2 separate regions of the Homo sapiens genome follow, and region 2 is linked to region 1. Evidence: promoter capture Hi-C in human tissues and cell types (Jung and others, 2019). All regions are on one chromosome and are shown on one strand. The core of a region is centred on a gene start or on the middle of the fragment in contact, and the rest is flanking DNA. Distances in the headings are between cores, read along the strand shown.

The links. Contacts are between HindIII fragments. The study calls those that stand out against the background at their distance.
Region 2: a fragment that was not itself captured here is called in contact with the fragment with the promoter of MYEF2 in region 1 in 1 of the 25 tissues and cell types used here (mesenchymal stem cells).

The regions. Positions count from the first base shown.
Region 1 is chr15:48,176,053-48,181,053 of GRCh38, reverse strand. It overlaps MYEF2 (myelin expression factor 2), which reads left to right and starts at 2,759. Exons shown (of 17, transcript NM_016132.5): 1 at 2,759-2,977. The coding sequence starts at 2,817. It also overlaps a transcript of CTXN2 not described here. RefSeq lists silencers at 2,518-2,617, 2,788-3,217, 3,248-3,417 and an enhancer at 2,164-2,815. The HindIII fragment of the contact is 10,011 bases long and covers 1-5,001 here.
Region 2 is chr15:47,965,213-47,970,038 of GRCh38, reverse strand. All of the region lies in intron 1 of LOC124900354 (a long non-coding RNA gene), which reads right to left. The region is part of intron 2 of LOC102724553 (a long non-coding RNA gene); the gene reads left to right. Among named protein-coding and RNA genes, the nearest start is that of LINC01491, 120 kb to the right of the region's middle. The HindIII fragment of the contact is 4,615 bases long and covers 1-4,025 here.

The DNA of each region.
Region 1 (5,001 bases), core at 1,510-4,009:
AGATACGTGTAATAGCTTTTCCCCTATCCCGCCAGGTACACACACATAAACATGCATTCTAATTTGTAAGAAAGAAAACTAAGTGATTATGTGAAGTTGTACCAGTAATATATTTTGTGCAATTGCAAAGGATAATGCTTTTGCAATGTGAATCATGGGAAAATAAGAATTTGAGCATCACTTAAGAATTTTTCAATGTACCTACATGCACTAAAAAACAAACAAACAAAAAACAAAAAACCAAGGCCGGGCGCTCTGGCTCACGCCTGTAATCCCAGCAATTTGGGAGGCCAAGGCAGGCAGATCACAGGGTCAGGAGATGGAGACCATCCTGGCTAACACGGTGAAACCTGTTTCTACTAAAAATACAAAAAATTAGCCGGGCCTGCTGGCGGGCGCCTGTAGTCCCAGCTACTCAGGAGGCTGAGGCAGGAGAACGGTATGAACGCGGGAGGTGGAGCTTGCAGTGAGCAGAGATGGCGCCACTGCACTCCAGCCTGGGTGACAGAGCGAGACTCCATCTCAAAAAAGACAAAACAAAACAAAACAAACCAAAACAGTAGAGAGGAAGACAAGCAAATACAGAAATGGAATTCAGCAACAGAATATTAATAGTTTTTTCTTTATCTTTTGCAATTAATAGCAAGAAAGGAAGGAAAGATCAATCTATTGAGCAGTCAGATGGAATGGTAAAGATTAATCATTCTCTTCCCTTCAGAAGTTGCCTTAATTCTTTGTCTTTTAAGATCCAGCTCTTTTATAAGGCCCTCACCAATCTCTCAGTAGGAATTAACCTCTGCTCTTTATCAGGACTAGAACCAAGCTACAGCGGGTGAGGCATTTGTCTTGGGTACAAAAGTTAAAACTCAGTAATCAAGATAAATATTTTAATGGAATATTTTAATTGGCAAACTAAGGCATGTGGGCCAGTCTCCTGTTTTTGTAAATAATTTTTTAATTATACTTTGCTTTTATTTGTATTATAGCACTTAAATAGTACTTTTTACATTAGCCCTCTCCCAACAGGGCTGTACTCATTTTTGTATTCCTCATGTACCTACTACTCTGTTTGAAGCATAAAGGCCTCTTAAAAAAATCTTGCATTGAGTTGATTAAAGGATTTTTGCAAGAATATATTGTACTGGTGATGGTGGGGTTCAATTTTCATACTGAATTCAACAATAGCAAAAGAATAACAGAATGATGACTATTTTGAAAGTACTTATAATTTAGTGCTGTGGGAAAAATCACTTGGCTTGTCTTTGACTAAAACCCTGCTGAGCTTAGGGAGATAGAGAATTGTAATATTACATTATGTTCATATAGCACTTTTTCCTACATAAAGTGCTTTCTTTTAATCCTCACCTCAATCCTGTAAGGTCGGTATTGCTATCCCTATTTATTGTAGAGAGATTGAGAAATGAGGTGACTTGCCCAGGGAGTTATGGGCAAAAAGAGGCAGAGCTGGGGTTCTAACCCAGATTTTGTCTGTCACAATTGAATGCCCTTTCTGCGATTATAAATCTTATGTCTCAGAGTTGAATGAGAAACAATTTATACAGCAACTACAATAGCATTCTTATCATTAAAATGTTCTGATTATGTGTGTGTGTGTTTGTGTATGTGTGTGTGTGTATGTGTGTGTGTGATGAAGTAGCTGAACTTGGTATTTTTCGGTAGAGGGTAGGAAACTACACATTGAAAAGCCGAAGATGAAATTATGTTATTTGAGTATTACTTTCTAACTATAACTTTACCACTGATGTGTGTATGATATTCTGCAAAGTGACTAAACTGTACGTGTTTGCTTCTTCATGGAAAAAAAATTTGGGAAGGCATTTAAACTTTTCAGCTGAAAAAGGTTATGTCAATGTGAAAGATTATAGTACTCGAGAATTAGGAGTTGATTAAATTTAACGGTTTCCTTTTCATACTTAGGGGGAAAAATCTACGACTGTATTTTAAAACTCCATATGGCAATTAAATTTGAGAGCGTATAACTAACTACTTCACTAGAATTTCCATCAGTATACAATAAACACACAGTCAAAACCTCAAATGTCCATTATTAGCCCATCTAGTAGACGATATTTTATAATTATGGATTCCCCATATTGATTGATGTCCAGAGAAAAACTGCAGTCTTCTCTTACTAAGCTGATAGTTGAGTTCCTGGGAAATCCTCACCCCCTAAGAACAAATAATTCTCAAAGAAATTCAAAGTCATTCCTTTTGGTGAATTGCAATCAGTCATCAATAACTATTTATGGAATGTCCGAAGGGTGCCTAGGCATTGAAATGGCAAGAGACTTATATTTGCTTAATTCAAAGGATTTCTAAAGGCAGTCTGAGGACTTGCAAGAAGTCTTTAAAGATGCAAAGTGGTGTGTTCTTTAACTGCCCCTACCTGGAATGAATTGAACAGTCTGGGTGTTAGGGCTTTGATGTCTAATCCCGCTTTGCAAGCGAAGACTCCACTGGTGCCAAGCGACAGGCGGGCTGGTGGGCAGACATGGCACCACCACCGGGGGCTTTCAGGACTGGTCCAGCCCTCCCAGGCAGGTGTAGGGCCGACTGCAGCAACAGCGGCCCTGACCCCAGCTCCCATGGCTCCCCTCCCCCCGCACTCCCACCCCCCGCACCCGGCACACACCATCTCCCAGTCACCCAGTCTCGACCGGTTCTCGCGAGATCCGGGTTACTGAGCGCTCGGGGCCTTTTCAAATCGGGATCCGTTACCGCTTCCCCGGCAGCCGCCATTGTCGCGCTCGGAGCCCCTCAGCTCAGGCGGCCGAGGCGGAGGCAGCGGCGGCGGGATGGCGGACGCCAACAAGGCCGAGGTGCCCGGGGCCACTGGTGGCGACAGCCCGCACCTGCAGCCCGCAGAGCCGCCGGGCGAGCCGCGGCGAGAGCCGCACCCCGCGGAGGCGGAGAAGCAGCAGCCGCAGCACAGCAGCAGCTCCAATGGCGTTAAAATGTATTGTCTTTTCCTCCGGGAACCGGGGCGAGGTGGGGGGCGGGGAGTCTACCGGGCGGCTAGAGGCCGGGCTGTGCCCCGATGGGGGACAACCACCCCCAGACCCCGGCCCGCCCCCGGGCCATCGGCTTCCTGAGGAGCAGGTGCAGCTGGGCCGCTCCCAGGCCCTTCCCCGCCCGCCCCAGGCCTGGCCGCCTGTGGTCTGGGAGCCGGGGCTGGGGGCCCGGGGACCAGCGCTCTTCCCTGATTTCTAGCCCGAGACAGCGAACACCCCTCTTCCCTGACTTTGGTTAAAGAATCTTTGAGCAAAGCTCAGCGACCGCCACGGTTTGCAGGAAAATGGTCCCCCTTTAAGGACCAGTAGTTAGTGTTCATCACTAGGGAGTATCTAGGGATGACATCATCGGACATTTCCTCTTAACCACCGAGAACATATTTAAAAGGAATATTCCTGGCTTCTTTCTGAGCTTCACAAGTTTAGTGTTTTGTTGTTTTCTAAAGTGTATGTTCATTTTTAAACTGATTTATACCGAGAGGAAGTTTAATAATGTGCTGTTAGACTCTATGTTTTGTGTTACTCTTGAATTGGCTAGACGTACTTTAAAAAGGGAAATGTGCGATGTGCGTGGCTTCCCTTCCCACTGGGTAATGTGCGTCAGCTGTGGAGAGTATTTTTTTTTTTAACTCAGTGTATGATTATCTTAAGTTTGGTATAATAGATGGTTAAGATTTTTTTTTTCCCAAATGAAGGAAGACTTTTAAGGTCGCAGCTGTCACCAGTGCCTATAAAGAATTTAGTTGACCCCAATCCATAATAATTTCTGGTTCTAGGGAAATGTTATGCTCTCCTTTGTTCCTGTCCTGTGGGAGGATATGAAGTTAAGCGCTTACTTTCATATGCCTACCTCCTTAAACCTGAAGTTGAAAGTATGTTAATAATTAAGTGAAAACATCCTTTTCCTTCTCTGTTATGCCTCAGAGCAGAAAGCAATAGATATATGCTCACAGTAAAATAGACAAGGGAAAGGTCTTTCTGACCTTTGTATAAGCATGTTTGAAATTGTATGGTAAGAACTGGACCAGTCTGTGTAAAAGTTGGTGGCAAAAAAGATGGGGTAGCTCTCCCCAGCTCTTTGACACTCTTGCTCTCAAATGAGTTTGAACAGGATCGGCAGCATCTTCTAGGAGAATAGAGGTGCAGGTATAAGAGATTGGAACTTAGTGGAGTTTATTCCTGGATGAAGAGTGGTGCACCTCAGTAATTGAGGAACCAGAAAGGGAATGAAGTGCTTTCTACCATGCTTGCCAAAATGTGGGCTTTCTGGAATTTGGCATTAAAAATAGAAATGAAAACCGGTGGAATGATAAACTTAAAAATATGTGCTATTCATATCTAAACACGAGTATACATGCCACCTTTTCTCCTGAACAAAAAGTGCAGCCTTGAATTACAGAGAGAAGCCCTCCTATACTTGGGTATGATTAGTTTTGATATAGGGGAAGTTTGGTATCTAAACCTCCATCAGATTTTCTATTCCCTTCTAAAGTCTCTTCATGATTTAGCAAGACAGGAAAAGAGAAAGGAGAAAGGTGGAGAAAGAATCCTTTTCTAATTTAGGAAGAGAAAAATATAAGGTGAAGAAATGAAGAAATATTACTAGTAAATACAGATTATTTCCATATTGCTTATAATTCGCCTCTCCCTTTCTCTTTTTCCCAGAAGTTGAATCGAGTCCAATTTACTCTCAGGGATTTCTCTTACTGTCTATTCCATAAGAAGATTTGTGATGGTCCAGCATGAGTCATTCAAACTGAATAACTAGCGACCTAGTCCTTTTTTTTTTTTTTTTTTTTTTTACTTCGTGAACTAGTAGGAGTGGATAACAACCCCAATACATAAACCTTGAGTTGATTACCATATACTTTTAATAATAAAAATAATTCATTGTTGATTATAAAAATTACCATAATATTGCCCCAAATTATGTATTGGTTGGAATTGAACAGAGTACTGCTTGTCATCA
Region 2 (4,826 bases), core at 469-2,968, 210 kb after region 1:
TACTGTGTGTCAAACACTATGCTAAGAATTAAGAATATAAACAAATATGGCAGCACTTCAAATTGAGACTTGCACAAAGAGTGGAAAACCACTAATTACGATGTAATAACCAAAGATTTGGTTGAATGTTCATATGTAATAGACACAGTGCAAAACCTATTCTTACATCACTTAAACTTCACGTGAAGGGGGAATTATTCACAATTTAAAGATGAGGCAGTTAATGTATAGAAAAAGGTTAGGCAACTCACCTGATATTATACAGCCAAGTGTGAGAGCAGGAGCCCAACCTCATTTACTTTTTAAATTCTACTATGCTTTCTACCATAGATATATTTATAACATAAATGAGAACCAAGAAGACAAACAAACCAAATCTCTGGGGAACAGAAGCCACTCTACAAAGTCTTCACAACGGAGCTAATATTTGATTTGCATTTTGGAGGAGAAATAGAAATTTGCTCAATGGACTGAAGTGTGGGCAGGAGAAAAAGGGAATCCTTGGCAGAAACACCGTAACATGGAATGGTGAAAAACAAAACAAAATACAATGAGATTAAGGAACTGCAGAAATACTTCTAAACCTGGAACATAGGGTATAAAAAAGGAAGACTCAAGATATGGTTCCAAGTTCCTTAGACCGTGGCTATATCATGAAGAGCCTTAGATGGCAAAGTAAAAAGTTTGAATTTTGTATTTTATGATCCTTAAAGTGCCTAGGAAAATATTAACACATATGAGCTATCCATATAATCGTTCTTGAACTGAAATTACAAGTATATAGAGTATGTGTCAGGAGGCTCTGAACTGGTGCCTGTAACTTTATGATGAGCTTACTGTTTTAGCTGCTGGAACATTTTAGCACCTTTCTTGACCTATTATTACATAAGTTTTTGTTGCCTTTCAACTTTTCGGAGAACAATTCTGCCATTTCTTTTTGAGTTTGAGCATTTTCCTACCTGCACAAAGGGAAGATGAGGTAATCCACATAACTGTTTTTTCTGTTTGAACATAATGCCAGAGACACCAACATCTGACATAACTCTTTTTCCTGATTTCTTGTGCATCCAAACAGGTATGGGCTGTAATGACTTTGGAAGATCCAAATAGCTATCATCTTGGCTGGAGAGAGGGTGACTTCCAAGCAAGGGCCTGTGCTCTGGCCTCACTCTCTGCGGCTCTGCAACATGAGCCTCAGCATCCCCTGTGCTACTCACTAGAAAGTGGACCTGACAGCTTTGGCAGGTAGAGCCTTGGGCTACAAAACCCTTCAGGCTGAGGTTGAAAATAAGGGCTCCCTGTTCCAGGGGTTATTGCTTGTTGCCCCCTGGGAAGTGGTGACTCACATAATCTGCATCTCTGTTTTCAATACACACCACAGAAAACTTCTTTCCTTTCTTCACCTTGAGTTGGTCATCAGCATGAAAATCAGACAGATCTTTCTAATGTGTGTTCCTTATAACATCAGTTCCAAGGGATGTTAATCCAATCAAGTTCCTGCAGTCAAATAGGGCAGGACCAAGTTTAGACTTCTCAGACTCCTTAACATTATAAGATACTTTCTAAATCTCCAAGAAGAATGGTGTTTTAAAAATTGCTTTGATTACAGAAGACTTTTCTTCCTGAGTCAAAATTGAGAGTACTGAGTGTTCCATGCAACACGTTTGGAACTTGATGCTCAGTGCTCTTATAGGCATAGAGTAACATGCATATTACAGTATATAAATAAGTACTTATTTACTTAGGATGCATGAGAATAAACTATTGCACAGATATGCATTTTCTGGATAACTGAACACAAACTCTGTTGAATACTAGACTGTGCATTAGTGTTACATATGTGGTGGGATAACATTTTGATAACATTTGAAATAACTCCTTTTTTGATTTTTTGTGCATCCATTTTTCCTTTCCCAAAGTTTTTTCTTCCCTGCATTTCTCTTTCTTCCTTTCCCCATTCCAAGCAGGGTCAGCCTTCTTTGGTTCATTGTCTCAGAGTAAGAAGGTGTCAGGGTGGAAGGCCGAAGTAGCCTATACGTCTGTCTGGCTTTTGTATTCCTCAAACCGAGGCCTTTAGAACAACACAGAGAACTCACAGAGTAGGCAAACGAAAGAGGATTTGGGGATACAGAGCCATGAAAAAAGAAGGGTAATCCCCCAGATTACAAATAGTGGCACTGTTGGGCAGAGAGAGGAGATAGGAGGGAGTGAAGAGGAGGTAGGGAGCGAAAGCAGGGGAGCCGAGGACAGAGGTAGAGGACGAGGACAAAAAGACATCATGAGGCTGGAAAGGAAACAGGCATTGAGTGTGCACCCAGCCTGACTGTAAAGAAAGATCTTTACCCTCTAAGACCAGGTCAGAGCAGCAGCGAGCCACAGCTGGTGTTGGGGAGCTGGCCAGCCACAGAGAGCTCACTACTAACCTGGGTGTGCACATGGCCCAGGACCTGGTGACCTGCTCTCCACTTACCCCAATGTTTTGACATTATTGACCCTTTCTTGGAATCTCTGATGGAACCTTAGAATGGGTGGGAGGATACTATAAAAGCTTGAGATTTGAATTCCTAATCAACTCGATGAGATAGGAGCCCCCAATAGAAATGATTGGGAATGAAAGAAAGTTAAATTTCTTGAAAATCTTGCTTTTATAAAGCATCATGCAATCTTTTCCATGGTTGGGGCTGTCTCGCAGCCAGGTGCTGAGGGTCTGTTGAGGAGTGAGCACCTTTGCAGCCGTGCCAATGTTGCAGGCCCCGGTGATTTTGCAGTTTTTATGTCTGCTTTTTATGTAGCTTTCCTGTCGTAAGCCCGAATTTCATTTCTTGATAATTATCATAGGTATACATAGGTCTAATTCTCTCCCTTTCCTCTCCAAATTTGCTCCTTTCATTGTGCTTTGGCCAGGAAACCAGATAACAAAGCTTCTGAGAATGATGTATAAAGGGAGAGGAAATCAGTTCTGAGGGCTGGCTCATTTTTCTCATCTACAAAATGACGGAGCTGTAATAGATCATCACCAAGGTCCAGTCCAGCTTGCACATTTTATGATTCCTCTGAATAAAGTATGTGAGCTTTTATGTGCCATTTTCAGAACATCTATTTGTCCCATTTCCTTATTCCCAGCCATGTTCTCAAGAAATGAGTTTGCTCCATTTGTGACCTCTTAAAAAGTGACATTATTTAACTTGGTATTTGTTAACTCAATTCACAATTCATTCATTCATTCTCAAAAAATTTTGAGCACCTTCTGCATACTGTGTGGTTGAATTACGAAGATTCGTGCATGATCTCTCCGTCAAGGAGTTCACAGACTAGGGCACTGACTTTCAATCTTTCCTGCAGTTGTGAATGAAGCCTGTTGGGACTCTATGACAGCCTGTTATATTAGAGGCCAGTATTTACTAAGCACATACTAGATGCCAGGTTCTGTTCCAAGTGCTTCAAAAGTAGCTTATTTTATCCTCAAATATCTACGAAGTAGTTGTCATTATTATCTGCATATACATGAAGAAAGTGAGACTCAGGCATGGGAACACACGGTTAATAAACATTTGGAACCAGAATTCACTCTTCAAGCAATACAAATCTAGAGCCCACATTCTGCTTCCTGGGGCTATGGTGCTTGTGAAATCAATAGCGACAAGAACAAGCACAGTAACCACACAGTAACAACAGCAGCCGTTTTGGCTATTCTATGCCACTTGCCATGCACTGTGCTAAGCTTTCAGTATTAATTATCTAATTTAAGACTAATAACAACTTCATGAGTGGGCACTTTCATTAGCTACATATTGCAGAGGAGAAACTCTTGACTTAAAAAGGTTAAACAACTTGCTCAGGATACACATCTAATAATGAGGGAAAATGGGGTACAAAGTGCTTTTTTTTTGAGACGCAGTCTCACTCTGTTGCCCAGGCTGGAGTGTACAGTGGCTTGATCTCGGCTCACTGCAACCTCTGCCTCCTTGGTTCAAGTGATTCTCCTGTCTCACCCTCCTGAGTAGCCGGGACTACAGGCGTGCACCACCATGCCTGGCTAATTTTTGCATTTTTAGTAGAGATGGGGTTTCACTATGTTGGCCAGACTGGTCTCAAACTCCTGACTTCAAATGATCCGCCTGCCTCGGCCTCCCAAAGTGCTGGAATTACAGGCCTGAGCAACCACGCCCAGCCCAAAGTGCATTTGTGGGGACAGTTTTTGGTGGCTCATGATCTTCATGTCCTCTAACCAAGTGGGAAGAGACAGATAAGGTATCCACTGATTTGCAGTAAGTATAGCGTGAAGTTCTTTGGGAGCAGAATAAATCAGTCTGCAGGTGGAGGGAAAGCTTCCCAGAAGAAGTCACCCTTGAGCTGAGTTTTGAAGGATAAGGAGGAATATAGGTTGAAAGCAATGAGGAGAAGGGAACCCAGGGTGGAGAGAATAGCACCTGCAAAGGCTGAAACAGGAGACAACAATGTGAGGCTAGGGAGGCAGGCAGGAGTTCCGTTACACGGGGCCCTGAGTGCAGAAGCAAAGGCATCTGCATGGCATCTGCTCTGTGGGGAGCCGCCAGAGGCTTTAAAATGTGAGAGTGGCTTGTCAGGTGTGACTGTAGAAAGTACTTCTGGTGTCTGCTTAGGGCACACTGAGTTTATGGTGACTCACGGAAGTCTATTTGGGATATGAATCTTCAAAGGGATAAAAGCTGGGTGTTGCTGCTGAGGTCCTAGGGTGCAGGGAGACTAGAGATGATGGAAGTGGGGGCGGGGGTGACTAGAAGGAAGGAGAAAAATTAGACTATTGTTCTCATCAAAGTCAGATGTGATGAGAGCCTGAGTTAAGG